2 separate regions of the Homo sapiens genome follow, and region 1 is linked to region 2. The links are contacts of gene promoters, found by promoter capture Hi-C in blood cells and fetal thymus (Javierre and others, 2016). All regions are on one chromosome and are shown on one strand. The core of a region is centred on a gene start or on the middle of the fragment in contact, and the rest is flanking DNA. Distances in the headings are between cores, read along the strand shown. Region 1 has its middle 14 kb from the start of ZCCHC7. Region 2 holds the start of PAX5 (paired box 5).

What was found. The method cuts DNA at HindIII sites, captures the fragments that hold promoters and counts their contacts. A CHiCAGO score of 5 or more calls a contact.
Region 1: a contact is called between a fragment that was not itself captured here and the fragment with the promoter of PAX5 in region 2, in 2 of 17 cell types (total B cells and naive B cells). The highest score is 8.1, in total B cells.

Annotation. Positions count from the first base shown.
Region 1 is chr9:37,104,312-37,108,832 of GRCh38, forward strand. No RefSeq gene overlaps it. Among named protein-coding and RNA genes, the nearest start is that of ZCCHC7, 14 kb to the right of the region's middle. The HindIII fragment of the contact is 2,500 bases long and covers 1,263-3,762 here.
Region 2 is chr9:37,031,153-37,036,039 of GRCh38, forward strand. It overlaps PAX5 (paired box 5), which reads right to left and starts at 3,116. Exons shown (of 10, transcript NM_016734.3): 1 at 2,834-3,116. The coding sequence starts at 2,879. It overlaps LOC105376031 (a long non-coding RNA gene), which reads left to right. Exons shown (of 2, transcript XR_929590.3): 2 at 1-181. RefSeq lists silencers at 2,882-3,002, 3,269-3,448, 4,529-4,688, a promoter at 3,262-3,700 and an enhancer at 3,779-3,828. The HindIII fragment of the contact is 10,408 bases long and covers 211-4,887 here.

The sequences.
Region 1 (4,521 bases), core at 1,263-3,762, 73 kb after region 2:
CCAAAACTGTGTTACCCCTCACCTGGTCTCAGGCAATAGTCTCCTAACTGGCCTCTAACATCTAGTCTCACCTTCCCCACACTAGCCACTAGAAAGGGTGTATAAAACATGTAATTGACCACATTACTCTTCTTAAAACCTTCCATGGGTTTTGATTGTCCTGAGGATAAAATCCTGTTCCTTATCTACCATACCTGGACTTTGTGACCAGACCCAAACCTTCCTCTATAGCTTCCCAGTAAGTCTATTCTTTCACAGTGTTTTCCTCTCTCCCTCCATTCCCCAACATGCTGTGCTCCAGTCAGGCCAGCTCACTTGCAGTTTCACAAACTCACAAGGCTGAGTCATGCCTCTGCCATGGCTCTTGCAGAGCCTCCTGGCTGGTGTGCTTCAGCCTGATCCTGGTTTCTGCAGAGAACACTCACTCCTATGTCAAGATTCAAAGAGTCACTCATGCAAACTTTTCTCATTCTCTTAATTACATATAAACAACAACCTCCTCCCCTTTGAGATGGAGTTTCACTCTTGTTGCCCATGCTGGAGTAAAATGGTGCTCCATTTCAGCTCACTGGAACCTCTGCCTTCTGGGTTCAAGCAATTCTCCTGCCTCAGCCTCCTGAGTAGTTGGGATTACAGGCACCCACCATCACACCCGGCTAACTTTTTGTATTTTTAGTAGAGATGGGGTTACACCATGTTGGCCAGGCCGGTCTTGAACTCCTGACTTCAGGTGATCGGCCCACCTCAGCCTCCCAAAGTGCTGGGATTACAGGCGTGAGCCACTATGCCTGGCCTACCACAATTTTTTGAAAAGGAGGATCAGTTCATGGATCTGAGGATCTGAGTTTAGGGGATCAGAGGAGGAGGGTGGGGTGAAAATAGAGCAGTGATGAAACTTCTCTGTAAATTACCTCTCTGCCTTCCTGCCTCCCTTTTTGCCTGCCACACAGGCTGAGCCAGGTCCTATTTTGGGGCCAAACGCATATGCTTGTGTGCACTCAGAGATGAATAAGACAGCACCTCCCCTGGAGGAGTCAGTGCTACAGATAAGTCAGGGAGGAAGTATGGGAGCCAATTTCACAGGTGGAATAATAAGGGAGATCATACGTCATGACTCGAAATCTTCCCATTATTCTCCTTCCCCTCTGACCCCCGTGCATGCTTCTGAGTCTCCTTGAGAGGAAACCCCATAATATTTCTGGAGTCAAGATTAGATGAGAAGATTTAATAGCATCAGAAGAAACATCTGGGTCCAATTATGAAGCTTTAAATGGAGCCTTTACATTTCATACTTGGAATTAAGGCTAGTGAATCCTCCAGATGTTTTCAAATAAACCAAACTATCACAGAGACAACAGGAGAGTAATTGAAAATGGACTGAGAGAGACCTTGAGCATAGGCAGTCTGAGGTAACACTAAGCAAGCTCACAATATCCCTTGCAAAAAATCTACTAGCAATAGATGTGTATGTCAAAGAATCTTAGAATTTGGGAGCTTAACAGGACCTGCCTTGGCAGTTACTAAGTCTTTTTCCTCATTTTACAGATGAGGAAACCAAAGTGCACAGAGATTAAGTGGTTTGAAACTTCACACAGGAAAATTATGTCATACCTGGCACTATAGTCCCATGCTTTGACTTTTAGTTGAGTGAGGGCCCTTGATTTTCTGCTCACCTATTGCTTTCCTTCAATAAAATGTTCTAACCTTATATTTTATTTTATTTTTATTTTATTTATTTATTTTTTGAGATGGAGTCTCACTCTGTCACCCAGACCGGAGTGCAGTGGCGTCATCTCAGCTCACTACAACCTCTGCCGCCCAGGTTCAAGCCATTCTCCTGTCTCTGCCTACTGAGTAGCTGGGATTACAGGCGCCTGCCACTATGCCCTGCTAATTTTTGTAGTTTTAGTAGAGACGGGGTTTCACCATCTTGGCCAGGCTGGCCTTGAACTCCTGATCTCGTGATCCACCAGCCTTAGCCTCCCAAATTGCTGGGATTACAGGTGTGAGCCACTGCGCCCAGCCTCTAACCTTCTATTTTATAAGTAGGATTTTCTCTTCTAGTAGTGGAATGAGTCAGACAGGGAGAAGCAAGTCCTTGCAAATGATAAATATATATTGCTATGAGTTGAATTGTGTCCCTCCAAGGGAATGTTGAAATCCTTATGCTAGTATCTCAGAATATGACCTTATTTGGAAACAGGGTCATTGCAGATATCAGTTAAGATATGATGGATCCTTTTTTCTGTTTGTTTGAGACAGAGTCTCACTCTGTTGCCCAGGCCTGAATGCAGTGGCTCGATCTCGGCTGACTGCAACCTCTGTCTCCCGGGTTCAAGTGATTCTTCTGCCTCAGCCTCCCAAGTAGCCAGGACTACAGTCACATGCCACCAGACTCAGCTAATTTTTGTATTTTTAATAGAGACGGGGTTTTGCCATGTTGGCCGGGCTGGTCTCGAACTCCTGACCTCAGGTGATCCATGTGTCTCTGCCTCCCAAAGTGCTGAGATTACAGGCATAAGCCACCATGCCCAGCCTGATGGGTTCTCAATTCAATATGACTGATGGCCTCATGGGAGGAAGAATAAGACACACAGGAAGAAGATGTAGCCATGTGATGACAGAGGCAGAGGTTGGAGTGATGCATCTACAAACCAAGGATTGCCAAGAACCTACAGAAGCCAGGAAGAGGCAGGGAGGGTTCTTCCTTAAAGCCATCAGAGAGCATGGACCTGCCAACATCTTGATCTCGGACTTCTAGCCTCCAAAACTGTGAGAAAAGAAATTCTTGCTGTTTTAAGTCACCCCACTTTTTGGTAATTTGTTGTGGGCAGCCCTAGGAAATGAATACAGTACACAAATGTTGCCAGCATGTGAGTTTCCTTGGGCCAAAAGAGGTGGGTTCCATCAGGCCTTGGGGTAGAGGCAGTTATGAAACAAAAGTTGGGCTGGGCTCGAATATTTGGTAGCAATAAGCCCCAAAGTTCAAGCAGCCAGCATGTCCCAATCAGATTCTAATCTGGGATACTAACAATGGATGATGAGCAGAATCAGAAGCAAAGGTGGAGGAAATATTTGTCTTCCCATTTGAAGAAGTTGCAGTTCCAAATCTTTGATTCAGCAATTCTGATTGGGATACAGAATTTTACAGTTTATGCAAGTTGCATCTCTAAGGTACACGTAGCTGACATGAAAAGCAGCAAGTTCTCTTCCTTGTTCTCACCAAACTCCTCCTACCGCATACCCAGTCACAGACTTATATATGTTCAAAAGCCAGAAAAGACTGTAAGGTGGTTGTTAAAACCTCACTCACTTTGGAGTGTTGCTGGACCACTGCAGGCTGACTTCAGTCCAGAGAGATGTGCCCATTTACTCACTGTTAAGTCTTTGAATTAGAGTCTCTGCAGGAAACAGGTGTACATTCTGAATGAAGAATTGAGTAGTTTCATGAAGGGACAGTTTACAGAGGGGTGGGCAGAACTCAGGGAAGACAACAAGGTATGGCACCCTAGGGCTAGCCATTGCAGGGAGCATTCACCTTTTAGTTACACCTAAAAGGGCCAGGAAGGAAGGGAGTGGCTGTATGAAGAAGGTCACCTGACAGGAGCTGTGGTCTTTTGTAGAGGAACGCAATCAACTCATGGAGACGCAGCAGAGAGGGAGCCAGCACACCAACGGTGTGACTTCATTCCCCTCCTGTCCTCCTAAATTTAGCTCATGCTGCCTATTGTCCAACCCCAACCAAAGACCAAAAGATAAGGAAGCTTTTCAAACTTAATGGTGATAGACTGAAAGCTTTCCCCCTAAGATCAGAAACAATATAAGGATGCCTGCTTTCATCACTGCTACTCAACATGGTACTGGGAGTCCTAGCCAGAGCATCTTGGAAAGAAAAAGTAAAACACTGTCATCATTTGGAATCACAAGTCATCCAAATTGGAAAGGAAGAAATAAATATTTACAGTTGCAGAACACAGGACTCTACATATAGAAAATCCCAAGGAATACACAAAAAATCTATTAGATCTAGTAAATTGATTTAGCAAATTTCTAGGGTACAAGATCAACACACAAAAACCAGTTGTGTTTCTGTACATCACCAAGGAACAATCCTAAAAAAAAATTCCATTCATAATAGCATCCAGAAGAATCAAATACAATTCTTAGGAATTTTATTCTGATTGGGATATAGAATTTTATGGTTTATGCAAGTTTTGCATCTCTCAGGAATGCATTTGATCAGACCATTCATCAAGAAAGGTGAAGGACATGTACACTGAAAAGTATAAAACTGCTGAATAAAATTTAAAAAGACCTAACTTAACATGAAATTCCATGGTTATGTATCAGAAAACTTAATATTGTTAAGATGGCAGTACTCCCAAAATGACTTACAGATTCAACGCAATCCCTATAAAAATTTTAATGGCCATTTTTGTGTAAATTTAACCAAGGAGGTGAAGGACTTGCACACTGAAAAGTATAAAACTGCTGAATAAAATTTAAAAAGACCTAATTTAA
Region 2 (4,887 bases), core at 1,866-4,365:
GAATTTAACCAGGTTTTTCAAGAATCATGTAAAATCACCTTAGTCGGGGTGTGTTATCATTACCAGCATGTCCTGCAGGCCAGGGGCGCTGGGACTACTCTCTCTCCCAAAGACTTGAGACAGGCAGCCCCTTCTAAAGCCTCTGCTTCCCCGTTTGTTTAATACAGAGAACAAATCCTGAGATGTGACTTCTTAGGCTCTGTGAGATGAAGCTTCATGGATGGGGGTTATTAATATCTATCACTCCATTCCAGGCTCATTCCAGAACTGTGAGACTGGATGTCAATGCCCAGTGGGAAAGTACTCAATCCATCCAGGTCTGCCCGGATCTAAGGACTCAAGGGTTCCCATGGCAAGGAGAGACTACTACTTGTCCAAGTAGTAGTTTTTCTCCAAGGGGGTCCATGGAGAGAGGGGGGAATCTGTCTCTTCTCCCAGCAGGAACAGGAGGTCTAAGGGCAGAGAGGTCACCTTCCATTCCTATTCCCTCCCTTACTCATGCTTTATGATCTCGAACAAGTCCCTTCCCCTCTCCGAACCTCTGAGTTTCCTTTCCCTACAGCAAGGAAGACATTAGAGGAGAAGGTCCTTAAGTGGCTCCCTGCTTAGTGTTGACCTGACCTTATTTTGGGCTTAGAGCCAGAAGGACACACTCCCTCCCCATTGGGCAGATAGGGAAACTGAGGTTGGGGTAAGAAATGGAATATGGTTCTGAAGGAAGAAAAAGGAAGTCTATTGGCCCATGAAATACCCAGAAGTTGGGAGAAGGAAGAAGCTCTCATAGGAACCAGACCTGGACAACCCTTTGAGCACCAGCTTGGACAGCTTCTCAGCTTCCCTCTCTTCTCCAGCCCTGACCCAGGCTGGAGTGGACAGATGGAAGTGCAGTCTCACTTGAACTGTCGCCCTTTTCCAGGCAGGCAGCTCTTCCCCAACCCATCAGTGAGGAGGGGGCGTGGCTCTCTAGATTTTAAGGCTTGGCCAGCCTAGGGCTCCCGTATCTCACCCCACCCCAAGCCCCACCCAGTCCAGCTATGCAGAGGAATAAAATGCTTTATTGATTAAATGATTATTCAGGCAATTGAACTAATCAAAGAGCCCATCGACCGCCATGAATTACATTCTTCTACACAGCTTGTCGGGAGAGCCAGCCCGAGGACTGCGCAGACCCTCTCCATGACACTCACACATCCCCGCCTCATTCCCCACACATACACAACACCCACTTCCAGGCTCAGGTCTCTCTGAAAGTCCATCTGCTGAGAAGCCCACTGCCAGGGAGAAGGGCCTTCTGAGAATTGAGGATGGAGAAGAGGAGTTTCCAGGTAACTTTTCCTGAGCCCTCATCCTGGGAGCACTCTTCTGCCTCAGATCTCTGCCCTCACTTCTCTCCAGCCACAATTTTGGAAACACAGTTATGCCCCAGAAGTTGTCCTGGGCTTGGGGTCTAAGTTTATCCTTTTTGCTCTTAGGCTTGTATTTGAGGCTGGAGGAGAGATGGGGGTTCTCAGAGGGCACAGAGATGGGGGAAGGGGGCTTCTTGCCAGGGCCAAGAGAGTGTTTGTGTGGGAGTTACACAGTGGCCTAGTGAGTGAAAGAGGCCCCCCATACCTGATTCATGCCTCAGGGCAGATGGAGGCCTACTGTCCCTGCTATCTCCTCTCAGACATAAACACATCCTGCTACCTACTTCTCAGGCCTGTGGGAGGCACATGGGGACCTAAGCCAGGGAGGCCTGTGCGCATACAGGCCCTAGAGCTGAATGCCCAGACTATGCACATGCATCCACCCACTGTGCTCTCCTCCACTGGTGCGGCACCCACAGGATAAAACCTGAGGACACAGTGTGTGTGTGTCTGTGTGTACACACAAATACACACGCCAGTGTCAGAGGCTTGTCTAGGTGAAAGTGAATGTAGGCTGGGGGTCCCTAGAAATGTCACAACTAACCCTACAGGTGTCCGCTGTCATCTGCAAGGTTGTGCCTGCCACAGGAGACCTGTTTGTACAAATGGTAGCCTGAACAGTGCTCACTGCACACCAAGAGGCTGCATGCCCTGAATTCACACCTTCATTCCTGGTCCTATCTCCCAATAGAATGGACACTGGGCCTTACAATGCACATGCTAAACACCACGGATCTCCATAGGCCCCAGACCCACGTCTAGGAGTTTGCCTAGAGACACAATGTGAACATTGGCGTGTATGCATCGGACAGCCGTTGACATCCAAAAATGGAAAGGTCAGTGTAGCCACTTCTTTCTCACATCCAAAAATCACTTGGGATATAACAGGTGAATGCAGACCCTTTAAATAGTGGATGTACACTCAGATATTTCCGAATTACATAAATAACACTCATAGTAGACACACATTTTGGATACCCAAAAGAATATACACAAGTACTAACTTATAAACACACACGAATACCCCACGAGTATAAAGATACACACACACACACACACACACACACACAGGCAAACAACTTTTGGACACAAACTCATATATTTTTACATCTTTTAAAAATACATATACTGTAATGAACACACTGAGTCCCTTATATAAACACACAGGCCCTAACTTGCAGACCCCCGGAAGGACGCCAGCGTGAACATTCAGAAACAGAGAAAAACACAGACAAACTCACAGATATTTGGACTGATGCAGAAGTGTGTGAACAGATAGGTGAAAAAACATAACAAACACGCCGCAGTTAGACAGTCTCTACGAAAATGCGGCGCGCCCCCTCCTCCTCCAGGGTCACCCTGCGTGGGGACCAAGGCCTGGCCGTGTCCCGGAGTTTGCACATCTGGAGCCCGTATCGCGGTCCTACCTGTCCTGCTGGTCCGAGGAGTCGGATAATTTTTCTCTAAATCCATTTTGATTTTTCAGGACTTGATGGAATGGACAGGGAAAAGTTTCCACTTTTTTGTGCCTTTTTTTTTCTTTTTTTTTTTTTTTTTTTTTTTTTTTTGGTGCCAGGGGCCGCTCACAGGTCGGAATAATTCAAGCCTTCCGCTCCCCCGCCGAGCTGGGGTAGCTGATCACTGAGCTGAAACTAAACGTTTTAGGTGGAAAAAAAGCGTCCGAAGGCACCGTGAAATGATTAAGGAACTAAAGAGCTTCTCGCCATGTGAGATCATGTCCTGTTCTCGCCAACATCACAAGATGTCCCCAGACACGCCGCGCCCCCAGCGCGCCGCCCCACACTGCCGGCCCGGAGCGAGGAAAGGGTAGGCGCTGCGCGGCCGGGCCTGCTCAGCGCGCCAGACGTGGCGGACCCGGCCCGGCCGGAGTAGAGCGGGAAGCCGGGAGAGCAGCAGTGCTGCTGCCGCGCCGCCCCAGACTTTTATAGGGGTTGGGGGGAGGGAAGGAAGGCTTCAGCCTGCGCCGGGCGCTAGCCAGCGCACCTACGGGAAGGGGCAGACCGAAGCGGAGCCCGGGAGCCCGGGTCTTCCAGCCGCACCTTCTATTAAGACATGCGCTTGGGGGTCGCGGCCCTCTGCGCTGTGCGCGGGGCCTGTGACATCTCCATGTGCAAACCCCGCTGCTTAGACGAGCGCAGGCCGGGTTTTTGTTTTTGAAGAAATTAACTGCTCGGCCAAGCAGGTGCTTTTGAAAGGGGTTGCAAAGGCTGGCAGTGTTGCCAGGCACCGAGGCGACGTTCCGGTTTACTCCGATTCACCCCTAGGGCGGCGCCCGACCCCAGGGTTCCCAGCCATCCAACCCCCACCCCAATTTGTTGGGGTCCTGACTATTGCTGGGCCCCTGACCCTAGGGCAGCGCCAGATCCCTAAAGCCCCCAGGTCCCATCCAGTCTTCTAGTCCCAGAACCCCTCCCCACATCAAGTTCCATTCTGGCCCAGAGCATGGAGGTTAAGCTGTGAAATACTGGAGATGAAATCCGGGCTTCCGCTTTGGAGCACCCGGGCAGAGCAGAACATCTCAGTAGTTTCTGGAGATTGGCGGGAGTTCCAGACACCTTACCCCGGCCCATAAGTGGAATCGCATTGCCCTCGAGCCCTGAGACGTTGTGGAGTCCCAGAGCCCCAGGACTTGATTCCAGAGAGGAAATCAGATCCACAGAGACCGAGCAGAGGTGTGGCATGTCCAGCCCTCTCTCTTCGGGCCAGACTCAAGCCTCCCCTCCCTGTTCCCCTCCCCAGCCTTGAGTTAGTTCAGCTGCTGGGCCTAGCCACTGAAAGCCTGTGGGGCCCTGCAGCGGGGTGGTCGCAGGGGAAAGGTTCTCCAGGGCGGGGGAGCGCTCCGTAGGAGGACTCCTGGCCCGCCGGACAATGGCAGTTTTGGAGAGTGAATCGTCCTCAGCAAGAGTGTTGTTTGTTTTTTGGAGGGGGTGGTCACGAGGCTGGGTCGCAACCTAGGGGGAAGAGCCTAGAGCTCGAGGAAAGGGGGGCCCCCGGCGGCAACTGGACATCACATATCCACTGAGCAGATTTCGCCACAATCGGAAATGTGGCTGTGGATTCCCGGGCGGCCCCCCCACCAAGTGGTCTGCGCAGTTCCCCAGCGCCGCCTCCTCCCTGCAGCCTGCGGGCCCGTGTCCCTACCCCGAGATTTGATTTTTGGCCATCTCCGAGTGCTCGACTCTTTCCCTCCGCAGCCCAGCCCCAGCCCAGGCTTCCCGCCCTCCCGCCTCGCCCGCGCCGGGAGGCAGCGCCTGGGAGGAGCGGCCTGTCCGCGCCTGGAGATCAAAAGCCCTCCCGGAATTGACATTTCACCCCGGGCTGGGGGCGGGGGGTGTTGGTGTTTTGTTGTTGTTGTTGTTTCCATTTAGAGGGCTTGTTTTGTTTTTGTTTGTTTTCTGTGAGTTTTCATTTTTCCATGGGATATTCTTTTGTTTCGGGTGTTTTGCGTGTTGTTTTTTCG